Linked DNA regions of Homo sapiens: region 2 is linked to region 1. Evidence: promoter capture Hi-C in 16 types of primary human blood cells and fetal thymus (Javierre and others, 2016). All regions are on one chromosome and are shown on one strand. Each heading gives the region's core, a stretch centred on a gene start or on the middle of the fragment in contact. The rest is flanking DNA. Distances are from core to core; before and after follow the strand shown. Region 1 holds the start of FOXC2 (forkhead box C2). Region 2 has its middle 29 kb from the start of LINC02181.

What was found. The method cuts DNA at HindIII sites, captures the fragments that hold promoters and counts their contacts. A CHiCAGO score of 5 or more calls a contact.
Region 2: a contact is called between a fragment that was not itself captured here and the fragment with the promoter of FOXC2 in region 1, in 8 of 17 cell types (M0 macrophages, M1 macrophages, M2 macrophages and 5 more). The highest score is 21.7, in M0 macrophages.

Annotation. Positions count from the first base shown.
Region 1 is chr16:86,562,766-86,569,701 of GRCh38, reverse strand. FOXC2 (forkhead box C2) reads right to left here and starts at 2,873. Exons shown (of 1, transcript NM_005251.3): 1 at 1-2,873. The coding sequence starts at 2,366. The coding sequence ends at 861. FOXC2-AS1 (FOXC2 antisense RNA 1) reads left to right here and starts at 1,941. Exons shown (of 2, transcript NR_125795.1): 1 at 1,941-2,085; 2 at 4,384-4,557. RefSeq lists enhancers at 1,570-2,153, 2,154-2,738. The HindIII fragment of the contact is 11,287 bases long and covers 69-6,936 here.
Region 2 is chr16:87,082,820-87,089,755 of GRCh38, reverse strand. No RefSeq gene overlaps it. Among named protein-coding and RNA genes, the nearest start is that of LINC02181, 29 kb to the right of the region's middle. RefSeq lists an enhancer at 587-1,236. The HindIII fragment of the contact is 3,669 bases long and covers 782-4,450 here.

The sequences.
Region 1 (6,936 bases), core at 1,624-4,123:
ATTTTAAGGTAAGTACAACGATTAAGACCACGTAAGACAAACACAGATGAAGTTAGAGTTTTTAAGCTTTTTTTTTTTTTTTCTTTTAGGAATACTCAGGGTGGAACCTACTATACAAAACCATCACACTTTGTAAATAAAAAGTATCAGATACTTGACTTCTTTATCCACCAACAAAAAAATAAATTATTTTCTTGTTTTGTAAAAGACCTACAATGGGAAAAAGAATTATATCTCATAATTGTACAGGAAACAAAACCCACATCGGTTTCTTGAATTCAATTTGGCAGTTAGAAATGGTTGGGCAAGATGAAAAACTTATCCAGTGAACTCAACTTTAAATATTATATTAATGGCTCTGAACAACAACAACAACAACAAAATAGCCTGATTACAAATCCACACATTTGTACAGCACGGTTGGAGAAATTTAAAATTACACACAGCACATATATTATCTATAGAGACCCCCATACACCTATGGGGACCCCTACAGAAAGTCACTAGGGGCTCGCTATGGGATTTGGTCCATAACTTAACTTTTGAAAGCTCAGGTCGAGCACAGCACAGCCGTCCTGGTAGGGGAGGGGGATTTTAAGATCAATACTCATTTTGTTGGGCTGCGTCCCTTTGGAGGGGTTTCCTGGGATCCCAGAAACGGGGCGGCGAATTAAAGTTACCTGCGCTCTTCACAGACGGCTGGGGGCTAGCGTGCCCGCTCTCTGCTCCCGGGTCTGAGAAAAGGTTGGTGGACATGTTTTGTTTCTTTTTTGCGTCTCTGCAGCCCCTTAATTGTCTGGTTGGGTCGGGGCTGGGAAGCGAAGCCGGAGCGGGCCGGGGAGGGGAGGTCCCGGGACACGTCAGTATTTCGTGCAGTCGTAGGAGTAGGGGGCTGCGTGGCGATAGAGAGGCGGCGTGGATCTGTAGGGCAGCTGGCAGCTGGCATTGCCACTCACCTGGGACTCCCCGAGGGTCGAGTTCTCAATCCCCAGCCGGTGGGAGTTGAACATCTCCCGCACGTTGGGGAAAGTTTGCTGCTGGGCCGCGAACGTGTGGCCGGGGAGGTGGTTCAGGTCCCCGCTGTGGTTGAGATACCAGGAGGCCGCCTGCGCCGCGGCGGCCCCGGGCTGCGGCGTCGGCTGGGGCTGGGGAGCCGGCGGGGGCGGCGGCGCCTGCGGGTGGTGGTGGCCGTGGTGCTGGTGGTGGTGGCCCGTGGCGGCGAGCGCGCCCTCCTGGCCGGCGGCGAGGTTGAGAGCGCTCAGGGGCGACGTGGGGCCGCTCGGGTGGTCCGAGAGGGCCTCGTCCAGGGCGGGCGGGACGCACATGTGCGCCGGCCGCTCGGCCCCGGTGTACAGGCTCATCGCTCGCATGCTGCACTGGTAGCCCCCGGCGGCCCCGGCCTCCAGGCCCTGAGCGCACGGCTGGCCGTAGGCGGCGGGCGGCGCGGCGGCGTAGGGCAGCGCCAGCGGCGGCACCACCAGGCCCGCGCGTCCGGCCCCCGGGCTCAGCTCTCCGCCCGGCGGCGACGTTCGCAGGGTCATGATGTTCTCCACGCTGAAGCCAGGCAGCCCGTTGGGCGCCGCGGCGTGGTGCTCCGGCAGCGAGCCGTCGGGGGAGCCGGCGGGCGTGGAGGCCGCGCTGCGCGGGCTGCCCTGCAGCGCGCTCTCGGGGCTCAGCGTCTCCACCTTGGTGATGACCGGCAGCGCCGGGGACGCCGCCTCGCTCTTGATCACCACCTTCTTCTCGGCCTCCTTGGGGGCGTCCGCTAGGTGGGGGGTGGCCGGGGCGCCCTTGGACGCCGCCGGGGGCGGCTCCTTGAGGTGGGCCCGCTCCTCCTTCTCCTTGGACACGTCCTTCTTTTTGAAGCGCCGCCGGCGCCGCAGGAAGCTGCCGTTCTCGAACATGTTGTAGGAGTCCGGGTCCAGGGTCCAGTAACTGCCCTTGCCGGGCTTCTTGTCGTCGCGGGGCACCTTGACGAAGCACTCGTTGAGCGAGAGGTTGTGGCGGATGCTGTTCTGCCAGCCCTGCTTGTTCTCCCGGTAGAAGGGGAAGCGGTCCATGATGAACTGGTAGATGCCGTTCAAGGTGATCTTCTTCTCGGGCGCGTTCTGGATGGCCATGGTGATGAGCGCGATGTAGCTGTAGGGCGGCTTCACCAGGTCCTTAGGCGCCGCGGGCTGGTGGTGGTGGTAGGGCGCGTAGGAGCGGCCCATCCCCGCGCTGTACTGCTCCGGGTGGCCGGAATAGACGCCCATGGGGCTGGCCATGCCGCCGTAGCTGCCCGCAGCCCGGTAGTAATTCTGCTCGCTCAGGTAGGGCACCACTCCCAGGGCGTTGGGGTCGGACACGGAGTAGCGCGCCTGCATGCTGCTTCCGAGACGGCTCGCCGGCGCCCTCGCGCACGGACTGCGGCCGGGGGAGCGAGGGGGGCCCTGAGAGCGAGAGAGCGCGAGAGAGCCAGAGGGGGAGAGGAGGGGAGCGGGAGGGGCGGCCCCGGGCTCCTGGCAGCCTCCGGGGCGAGGGTGCGCGGGCGGCGGCGCTCGGGCCGAGCAGGGGCGCGCGCTTTCAGCGGACCGGGCGGATCGGCATCCTGGAGGGCGCGCCCCGGGCAAGCGCAGCGCCGGCCCCGCTCCTCGCTGGCTCCAGGACCCGGCGGCGGCAGCGCGGGCAGGCGGGCGGCCGCGGACCCAGCGGAGACGCCGCGGCCTGGGGACCCAGGTGGACCCTCGGCCCGCGCGAGGAGGGGCGCAGGAGGCTCTCCAAGCCCCCAGCGAATCGGCAGCCCCGAGGGTCAGCGCGCCGGGGTCCGAGCGGCTGCCCCGCTGAGCCCAGAAAAAGAGGCCAAGTCCCTTTTAGGGATTGGGAAAAGTTTCAAAAGTCTTCTTGCTGAAAGCGAGTTTTTACTTTCCTCGGGCCACGCCCCCTCCCGGAACTTTGAGCCAATCACCCGGCAGCTGAGAGGAGTCGGCGCCAATCGGGGCGAGGAGCGCAGGAATCCGTCGGCTCTAAGACCCCGCCGCCCCGGCCTCCGCGGCGACTCCGTCTTCACTTGAAAACTTTTTAAAAAGTTATATCTTATTAAAATTTATTTTATGATCACATTTTGGTGAATGGGCCCACATGCCCAAAACAAAAAGATAGCCACTTTCCTCTGTTAAAAAAAATCAATTTGAAATATAAAATAGAATGGATTAATAGAGTAAAATATCTCTCCCAAAGACCTTGTAAGTAGCAATGATCCTGGGACATTTTTCTTATTAATGAGTGATGAAGCGAATAATTAGATTTCCTAATTATGGGGGCCCAGGTGTAATGGATTCAAAGCAAACGCGCTGGATTGGAATGGCAGGGCCTCTCCTGGATGTTATACTTATTTAATCAAATAATTAATCATCAACAGGGAGTTTCCAGGCTCGGGGTCGTCAAGGATAACCTATCGAGGTTTTAGAGGTAAACCCTACAAACTGAGTTTCCCTCGCTCCCCGCCGAGGAGCCAGGCAGCGGAGTGCATAGAGGGGAAGGTAGCAACGTGCTGACTGACAACTTAATCCTCCGAATTCGCGGGGAATTCGGTAGATCATCCGCGTCGCTGCGAGCAGTTTTGTGGGGTTTGGGGAAAAGGGTGAAGTGACTCTGCTATTTCCCCCTTTCGTCTCCCGCGTGGACACTCGCAGCCTACCAACTTCAGCTTCGAAACTCGTCTCCCTTTTCCCAGGTAGAAATTCCCTCTAACAAGCTGACCCCGCACTCCCAGAAGACCGGGACAATGCAGCGACCCACCCGGGCCAGGCAGAGCCGAGTTCCTGGGCCCTGCGAGGAGAAACCCGAGCCTGTTTTCCGCGGGGGCTTGGCTCGAAGGCGCGCGCAATGAGCGCCGCGCACCGCGGGCACCAAGCGTGGACGTTTCCCGTGGCCCAGGCCGGCGCCGGCCGCTAACACCGACCCTAGGGCGCTGTCCCTGCCTCCTGCTCCTGGCAACGTCCCCCTGGGAGCCTCCAAGTTGCTTTTCTATATTTCAGCCTTTTTTTTGTTTTGTTGGGTGGGTAGGGTGAGTTAGGGAGCGCGCTCCGTGGGAAGACTGGGTGAGCGGTTGATTGCAAACGGTTCAAGATCCCTTCGGGATGATATTATTCGGCAGGCAGACCTGGAGCGACTTGGATCTCCTTCAAGGATTTCTCCTTCCCTCTAGGAATCCCGGACAGTTTGTTTATTTGTGGACTGATTATTTATTCCTTCCACACCTCAATAATCAGATCCCCTTTTCCCACTTTCCCTGAAGGAGTGAGACACCCCTTTAACAAGGCTAAACACGGGCAGAATTTTGGAAGTTGCTGGTCTGGTTGGGCAGGGAAGAGGGCTTCAGGGAGAACATTTGTATTTCAGGTTTCCTTGCACCCTTCCTGGCTGTTCATCGGCTGCGTATTCGATTCTCAGCAAAAGGATGTTGAGACAACCCACCAGGCCTCTTCGCTTCGGCCTCTTCGCTTCGGGGAGGCGACTAGAAGGCAATGGGGCGTGCCACTTATTTCCAATAAAAGAACAGAAGACGAAAATGTAGATGCATTATCTTTGTCTCCTGATCAATTCAAAGCCAAAGGGAAGCTACAAATCAGGTTCCTTTACCTTGAATATTCCACTTCTGAAACATTGTTTTTATGAGTATTCTGGGCTCTTTTTCTAACCTGATCCTTTTTCTTCTTTCTTTGAAACAAAGTAAAATAAAGCTGCCCAGTTCTCAGCTCACAGGCAAATGATTTGAGCTTTCTGCCCCAACCCTAAACTCCCACCATGACTTTATTATTTTTAATAAGCTAGTATTTCCGCATCTAGCTTAAAAAAAAAAAAGGACTAGCAAAAAGTGCCCTTCTCCTGCAGCGCATGACAGGCACACTGAGTTCGTGTCACGATTTTACTGGAAATGCAAACTATTGATCAAGAAACACTCCTCAGCCTGTAGGCTTCCTGGAGGAATATTATTTACTCTGCTTTTACGAGGGGTGTGTGTGTGTGTGTGAGAGAGAGAGAGAGAGAGAAACAGCTTTATCACAGCAAAACCTAAAATAGCTAAGGACTATGAAAAAATAAATTCCAAAATGGCAGTTGCTGCCTACGTTTGTATTCACAAGGGTGTCCCGGTTTAAACCAATGTCATCTGGGGAAACAAACAAACAAACAAACAAACACCTAAATCGAGTCGCCCAATATATTATCCACCCTCCCCCGCCCCAAAGAAAGGAAAAGGGGAGGGGAAAGAAATTCGTCTCATCAAGACAGAAAAGGTGAGAGAGACACTTCCCTTTACCCCTGGAATTAGGTTTCTTGTTTGCTCAGTGGGACTCCGGGAAAGATGTTTGTTCAGGTTATTAAAACAACGCCTTCCATACACCTGGACTTTGCAAAAACCGTATTTCCCAGCTTTTCTTTAACCTGCCAGGGTATTTCGGATGGGGGGCTGCTACTTTCTGGCTGATTTTCCCCCTTCTTGACCTTGTAAGTCAGTGAGCCGAACGCGGAATCGGGTCCCAGAGGGCCTCGCGTGTTCCTGGAATAATAAGCGGCGATAAAGCCTAAAGGTATTTAATTCGCCTTCCGCCCCCACCGCGCTGCGCTCCTCCCGGCCCGTGGCCGCTGCACCTGGAGCGGCTGGGCGGACTCCGTGGGTGTTGGCGTCATCTTGAGGCCAACCAGGGAACTACTACGAGAAAAGGAAAAAGAAAAAGACCGCCCGGCCCGCCCTGCTTATCATGAAGGTGCTGACACCTTGTGGATACTCCTGGGCATTGCACGGCTGGAATGGAGCCTTCAGAAATCTGTAAAAGCAGAGAAAGGAGATAAACTGCATCGCGTCGATTAAAAAACATTTCCCGTAACTTCGCAACGTGTCAAGAACATGATCTGTTGGGAAACAAAAATGTCTTTGAAACTGCTCGGGGAGCAAGAAATTTTCTCTAGGGAAACTTGCTGGGGTTTTCCCCAAATAAAATCTATGCCTCTTAGGTGGCTAGAAGTCTGCATTTTCTTCCCCCGGAGTTGTTGAACAAATTGCCTCGTCCATGTTTTCCCGCTGCAGCTGTCTTTCTGCCCGAGGTGTGGCGTGAGCTTCAGGGAATTCATCAGAAAGCTGTTTGTGCTGGTCGTGTGTTTAGAGGGTTGGCTTGAACAAGAGGCAGACTTTGAAACTGGGCAGCAGCCACTTCTACTTTTGAGGTACAACAGAGAACTCAAAGAGGGGACAAGTGAAAGGAGTTTTGTTTCTTGTCTCACTATTTCCCATTCATTCATTTCAATATCCTTCAAACATTTCTTTTCTGGGGTCACGAGGTGCCTTGGTTTTGAGGAAAGGGATCGGGTGGCAGAGGAGTCCCAGGCTTCCAGAAGCTGCCTGAGAACCGAGGAGCCCTTGGGTTACACAAAGTCGGCGCCACCTCCTAAAAATCCATTGTAATCCGGCTTCTAAACTTTTGTGGGACAAAAAAAGTGTCTTTTCTAAAACTCAGTTCAAGCTCATTTTACTGTGTGTGAGTTTTCCGGTGAGTGAAAGCCATGCTGCGCCATCGACAAAGGGCAGGGCCAGAAAGGACTACAGAAGCGGGTGGGTAGTGAGAACTGCTGTTGGTCACAAGGATTAAAGAAACTCAACAAGTAAACGCAACCCTCAATCCTAGGCGGAAGAAATTTTTTTTTCTTTTTTCTTTTTTTCCTGTTGTTGTTGAGACGGAGTCTTGCTCTGTCGCCCACGCTGGAGTGCAGTGGCACGATCTCCGCTCACTGCAGGCTCCGCCTCCCGGGTTCACGCCATTCTCCTGCCTCAGCCTCCCGAGTAGCTGGGACTACAGGCGTGCGCCACCACACCCGGCTAATTTTTTGTATTTTTAGTAGAGACGGGGTTTCACCGTGTTAGCCAGGATGGTCTGGATCTCCTGACCTCGTGATTCG
Region 2 (6,936 bases), core at 1,367-3,866, 520 kb before region 1:
CTGAGTTCCTCTCTTGGAGAGAGTACTGCTACCAGAACTGTTGTCCAGGCAGGTGCTCCTGTAAAGATATGCTAAACATCGAAGTGTGGAATGATCCCACATTTCTACTTGGCTGAACATGTGGCACTGGTTGCAAGTGGCCTCATGGCTGTTGACAGGAAAAAAGAAAAAGCAGGCCAGGTGCAGTGGCTCACACCTATCATCCCCACACTTTTGGAGGCCGAGGCAGGTGGATTGCTTGAACCCAGCCTGAACAACATAGAGAGATCCTATCTCTACAAAAAATACAAAAAAAAAAAAAAAAAAAAAAAAAAAACAAACAAAAGCTGGGTGTGGTGGTGCACGCCTGAAGTCCTAGCTACTCAGGAGACTGGTTGAGGGAGGAGGATTGCTTGAGCCCGAGAGGTTGAGGCCATAGTATGCTGAGATTATGCCACTGCACTTCAGCCTGGGCAATGGGAGTAAGACCCTGTCTCAATTTTTTTTTTTAAGCCAACTTTGTAAAATACGAAAAGGGGTTTATTTTGAGCCAATATGAGTGGCGATGGCCTGAAGGATGGTCTCAGTAGGTCCTGAGAAAGTGTACCCAAAGCGGTCAGGTTACAGCTTAATTTTATACATTTTAGGGAGACAGAAGTTACAGGCAAAGACATAAGTCAGTATGTGTAATGTGTATATTGGTTTGGCCCAGAAAGGTAGAACATCGCAAAGCAGGGAGGCTTACAGGTCATAGGTAGATTCAAAGATTTTCTGATTAGCAATTGGTTGAAAGAGTTAAGCTTTGTCTAAAGACTTAAAGTCAGTAGAAAGTTCAGATAAGGGGTGTTGTGGAGACCAAGGTTCTTGTTATGTAGTTGATGCCTCCTGGGTAGCAGTCTTCAGAGAGAATAGGTGCTAAAGGTGTTAGACTTTTACTTAATCTCTCTTAAATCCAATAAAGATCTGGCTGCATTAATGAAGATTCTCTACAGATGCAAAAATTTCCCTACAAATAACTGTGTTGCAGGACCATTATAAAATATGTCAAGGAAATATATTTTGGGGCAAAATATTTTGATTTCCTTCAGGCTCTGCTGTTATGTGATGCTATACTAGAATCATGTTGGGATTTGATATGTTATTGCCGCAAAGAATATGTTTTGTCTGTCTCACGATCTCTATTTTAATGTTAATGCTGGTCAGTTGTGCCTAAACTCCAAAAGGGAGGTGTGTAACAAAGTGTATCCAACCTCCCTTCCTGTTAGGGCCTGGATTCCAGTTTTTTTTTTTTTTCTTTTTTTTTTTTTGAGACAGAGTTTTATTCTGTCCCCCAGGCTAGAGTGCAGTGGTGCGATCTCAGCTCACTGCACCCTCCAGCTGGCAGGTTCAAGCAGTTCTCCCGCGTCAGCCCCCCTGAGCAGCTGGGATGACAGGTGTGCAGCACCACTGCCAGCTAATTTTTGTATTTTTTGTAGAGACAGGGCTTCACCATGTTGGCCAGGCTGGTCTTGAACTCCTGACCTCAAGTGATCCTGTCAGAAGCATGTTAACCAGAGCAACTCCATCTTGAATAGAAGCTAGCTAAAATGAGGCTGAGACCTACTGGGCTGCATTCCCAAACAGTTAAGGCATTCCAAGTCACAAGGTGAGATAGGAGATCAGCACAAAATACAGGTCATAAAGACCTTGCTGATAAAAACAGGTTGCAGTAAAGGAGCTGGCTAAAACCCACCAAAACCAAGATGGTGTGACCAAGGATGGAACTCTGATCATTCTCACTGCTACATCCCACCAGTGTCATGACAGTTTACAGATGCCGTGGTAATGTCAGATGGTTACCATACATGGTCTAAAAAGGGGAGGCAGGAATAATCCACCTATTGTGGAGTATATCATCAAGAGATAACCATAAAAATAGGCAACCAGCCACCCTTGGGGCTGCTCTGTCTATGGAGTAGCCATTCTTTTATTCCTTTACTTTCCTGATGAACTTGCTTTCACTTTACTCGATGGACAAGCCCTGAATCCAAGAACTGAGTGAGATCCAAGAACCCTCTCCTGAGGTCTGGATCGGGACCCCTTTCCTGTAGCAATCTGCCCTCCTTGGCCTCCCAAAGTGCTAGGATTACAGATGTGAGCCACTGTGCCTGGCCTGGAATTTAGTTTTTCAGGTTGCTATGGGGTCCTCTTGGCCAAGAGGGGGTGTCCTTTCAGTTGGTTTGGGACTTAGGGTTTCATTTGGGGTTTATGTGGCCCAACGAAGCAGGTGAGAACACCCAATGAAGAAGGTGAGAGCACCCTTGGGCGCCTGAGGGACAACATCTCCTTGCACCCTTCAGCTGGCTTGAGATCTCCACTCCATGGTGATTGAGCTCAGTCTCTTGGGTTTGGGTCTCAGAACTCCACTCTGCCTCCTGAGGGCTCTAATCCCACCATTTCCTCAGTGACTGGGAAGGTCAACCCCTTCTATTTTGTCCACTCTGCCTTCCCTGTTTGTTTTTAAATAGACTTAATGTTTTAGGGTTGTTTTAGGTTTACGGCAACATTGAGCAGAAGGTACAGAGATTACGCTGTTTTCATCTCCTGGTTTCTGTTGATGCGAAGGTGCACATCTACCTCCTCTTAGCTCCTGGATTCTACCCACTCAGAGTTTCTGTTTCTCCTAACCTCAGTTAGGCATGACTCCTGAATGTCTGTCTTTTAACTTTTCCTTCTTTGCTCCTGTCATCAACTGATTAATTCTTTCTTTTTCCCAAGTAAACACCCTGATGGGTGCCTCCTATGAATTGGCAGCGCTCTATTCAGGAGCCCAAAATTAACCCAGTAAATCATGGCCTCAGTGACTGCAGGATTAGGAACAGGGTTGCCTGGGGTCTGTGGGTATTGCATACCTTGTGATTGACTTTTACTGTAGCCAATTGAATTTCACATTTAGGGAGTTGTATGCTTCCTCACTCTAGCAGCATAGTAGCCCTGGGAAACAGTCTAGTCATGATTATCTGGATATGTGAATTTTGGGATGATCCCTTGGCTGACTTTCAGCAGTTAGAGGCAGAATTGCTGATGCCCAGGGGCAGGCTTTGGGTGATGGTGTTGTTGGTGGATGGGGAAAAATGGTGAACTCCTGATTCTTTCCTTCCCAGCCCAGGGAGCCAGAGGAAATATGCCAGGGGAGTTTGACTATCCAGTGTTGGATGCAGTCTCTTGTGTTTTGGTCTGTGTTGGCCACAGGAGCCTTCATTATAGCTGAGCTAAATCAGAAGCCCCAGAGTCAAATGAAGGTCATGTCTGAGGCTGCATGTGCTAGCCCACTAAAAAGCCATTTCCTGGTACAGAGTTGTAAACAGGCTTGCATGCACATATAAGCTCTTTCTTTCTGATCGCAGTAGCTGGCTGCACAGTCTGTGGCTCAGTCGCTTCTCTCTGGCCTGACCCTTCCATGGTGGGCCTGTGAGGTGAGTCATTGCTGAGACACACGGATATCCACAGCCTCTGTGGATGTCCGTGCCAAGCAGAATGCTCCTGGCCACTGTAAATCTGGCTCCAATTTGGACTTAAATTCATGCATGAGTCCTTTTCCTTGGGCTTGGATGCTCTGGGACCACCTGCTCCCTTCTGGGAAATCAGGACTTTTCCTTTTTATCCAAATCAAAGGGTGACTGAGCCAGTGGCCAAAAGGGTGTTTGCATTGGTATGAAGAGGAAGAGTGGTTCAGTCCCCCTGGAAGTGGACTCAGCACCCTCATCCAAATTCCAAACCCATAGAACCCAGCAAGGCTCCAGGGCCCTTGGCTGAATCTTATCCTTTGGAATTTGGACTGGGGTGAAATTCTTTTTGAAGGTAGCATGGACCTGGGTCAAGGAGAGGACTTGAACAGATCTCTGTCCAGCCTGGAAATTTGATGATTTACATGAAAGGAATTGAATGCTGGCATTGAATTTCTCTTGGATACCATGGGACCTAAAATGTAAAGGAAGCAAATTGAGCAAACACCAGCGTGCATTTGACTATAACGAATATACTCTGAAATGTCCTTCGGAATGTTATAGCAAAACCCAAATTGGGGCATGTCAGAAGCAACTCTGGATATAATCCTCAGCCACCTGGATTTTCCAGCTTGCACTCACCCCGAGTGGACTCCAGCCAAGTTCCTCTCTGTTCTAACACAGGAAAAAATTACTTTGGTGATTGGATGGGGTAGGTGTCTCCCACTCCAACAGCTAATTGTGGAAATGCAATTTCATCAAGTCTTGATATTTCTAAAACCAAACAGGGAAACTGTGATGAAAATGTGTTCCCAGTTCGTTCTCCATCCCTCTCCTGGGGAGAGAAGGGGATGCTGCATGGGAAAAGGACTCATGCATGAATGTGAGTCCAAGTTGGAGCTGGATCTATATTGGCCAGGAGCACTTTGCTTGGGAAACTTCTCTGTTGCTGAAGAGTTTGCTGGAGAGCAAACCTACCTGAAGCTTGTGCTTTATAGGATATAACTACGAGGTGACACAGGATATGATTATGAGGTGACTTCAAAAAGTTTGTGGAAAAATGGAATTAAAAGATACAAATAAAAAATATAAACTTTATTTCTCAACATAAGCTTCACCAAGGTCAAGACACTTTTGTCAGTGATGACACCAGCCATTTAGTCCATCCCTAAAGAACTGAAGCTCCTGGAAATTTAAACACATCAGTGTAGTCTTTTATATATTATTAACTAGAGAAAAATGGGTGCCCTTTAAAGATTTTTCAAGATTAGGAAACAAAAAGAAGTCCAGACAAGCCAACTCAGGACTGTAAGGTGGACGCCTAATGATGTCTCACTGACATTCTCACAAAATTGCCCTTGTTTGATGAGAGGAATGAGCAGGAGCATTGCTGTGGTGGGGAAGGACTCACTCCACCACCAAAGGATTTCACAGGCATTTTTCTGCTAGAGCTTTGGCTAACTTTCTTAAGCCACTTCCATAACAAGCAGATGTTATAATGCTTTGGCCTTCCAGAAAGTCAGCAAGCAAAATGCCTTGAACATCTCCAAAAATTGTTGTCACGACCTTTGCTCTTGACAAGTCTCCTTTTGTTGCGACTGGACCGCTTCCACCTCTTGGTAGCCATTGCTTTGATTGTGCTTTGTCTTCAGGATGGTACTGGTGAAGCAATGCTTTACTGCCTGTTATAATTCCTTGAAGAAAATGCTTTAGAATCTTGATCACACTTGTTAAAAATTTCCATTAAAAGCTCTGCTCTTCTCAGCAGCTGGTCTAAGCACAATGGTTTTGGCATCCACCAAGTGAAAAGTTTGTTCATCTTAAGTTTTCAGTCAGAATTGTGTAAGCTGGCCCAGTTGAGATGTCTATGGTGTTGGCTATTGTTTCTGCTGTTAATCACTGGTACCCTTCAATAAGGGCATGAACAAGATACATTTTTTCCTTGAAAATTGATGTGGATGGTCTGATGCTGTGGGCTTCATCCTCAGCGCTGTCTCATTTCTTCTTAAAATGAATTAATTATCTGTAAACTGCTGATTTCTTTGGGGCATTGTCCCCATGAACATCTTGTAAAGCATCAGTGATTTCACCCTTCTTCCATCCAAGCTCACCATAAATGTGATGTTTGTTGTGGCTTCAATTTTAGCAGAATTTATGTTGCTCTAATAGAAGCTCCTTTTAAACTGATGTCTTGTCCCTTCCTAGTGCCTCAAGCTAGATCCTGTTTAGATATGTTATAACCAGTTAACATGAGTTTATTTTTATGCAAACAAATTTGAAATTTATAGTTTTTTTCATAACACATAAGAAGACCTCTTGTATTTCTACATTATTTCAAACATTTTTTACTCTCAAAATTTGACTGGCCCCTTTCTTCGTTTGCAGAAGTTGGATTTGTCTCCTACTCCATAGAAGAAATAGAGGCCATCAGATAAGAATTTCCTCAACTTGGCCAGGTGTGGTGGCTCACTCCTGTAATCCCAGCACTTCGAGAGGCCGAGGCGGATGGATCACGAGGTCAGGAGATCGAGACCATCCTGGCTAACCTGGTGAAACTCCGTCTCTACTAAAAATACAAAAAATTAGCTGGGCGTGGTGGCAGACGCCTGTACTCCCAACTACTTGGGAGGCTGAGGCAGGAGAATGGCATGAACCCAGGAGGTGGAGCTTGCAGTGAGCTGAGATTGCACCACTGCCCTCCAGCCTGGGTGACAGAGCAAGACACCATCTCAAAAAAAAAAAAAAAAAAAAAAAAAAAAAAGAATTTCCTCAACTTGTGCTCCCAAAGATGTTCTAGTAGATTGATTATTGTCCCATACATGTTCACACTCCCTTCCCCATGCTTCCCATAGAGCATACTTCCCTGTCCAGTAACTTTGGCCTTGACCATGTGACCTGCTTTGACCAAAGGAATATGGCAGAAGTGACAAGGTACTGTTTTAAGAACAGGCTTTAGGAGTCATTTTGAGTTCTTGCTCCAGCTTTTTTGCTCCTGCCATTCATTGTGAGAAGAGCGTGCCCAAGTATCTGCTTCTCTTCCGCCTGGATCAGGGACATGGAGCAGACCCCAGACAAAGCCCTGCTGAGCCAAGCCACAGAACTATGATGGAGAAATACATGTCTATTAGTATAAGCCACTGAGATTGTGTAATTGTTTGTTATACTGATTATTCCAGAAAAAACTTGACTAATGATACAAATTCTACATATGGCAACACTCCTTCTTGCTCTTCTTGCTCTTCACTTCTTCTACAAGGAAGAATTGTCCTTCCTCACATTTATTGCCCATCTTCCCACTGGACTGTGCATTTTATCTTCCCTCATCTTCTCAGGAACCTTAATGATCAAATATTTTCTTTTCTCTTGAAATATCCTCTTAACTAGATCCTTCTCATCATTTTAAATGTGATACATTCCTTTTGGCTTCCACTCAGGGATAGAAAACTGGAAAGAGAGCCGTGCATACCCTAAC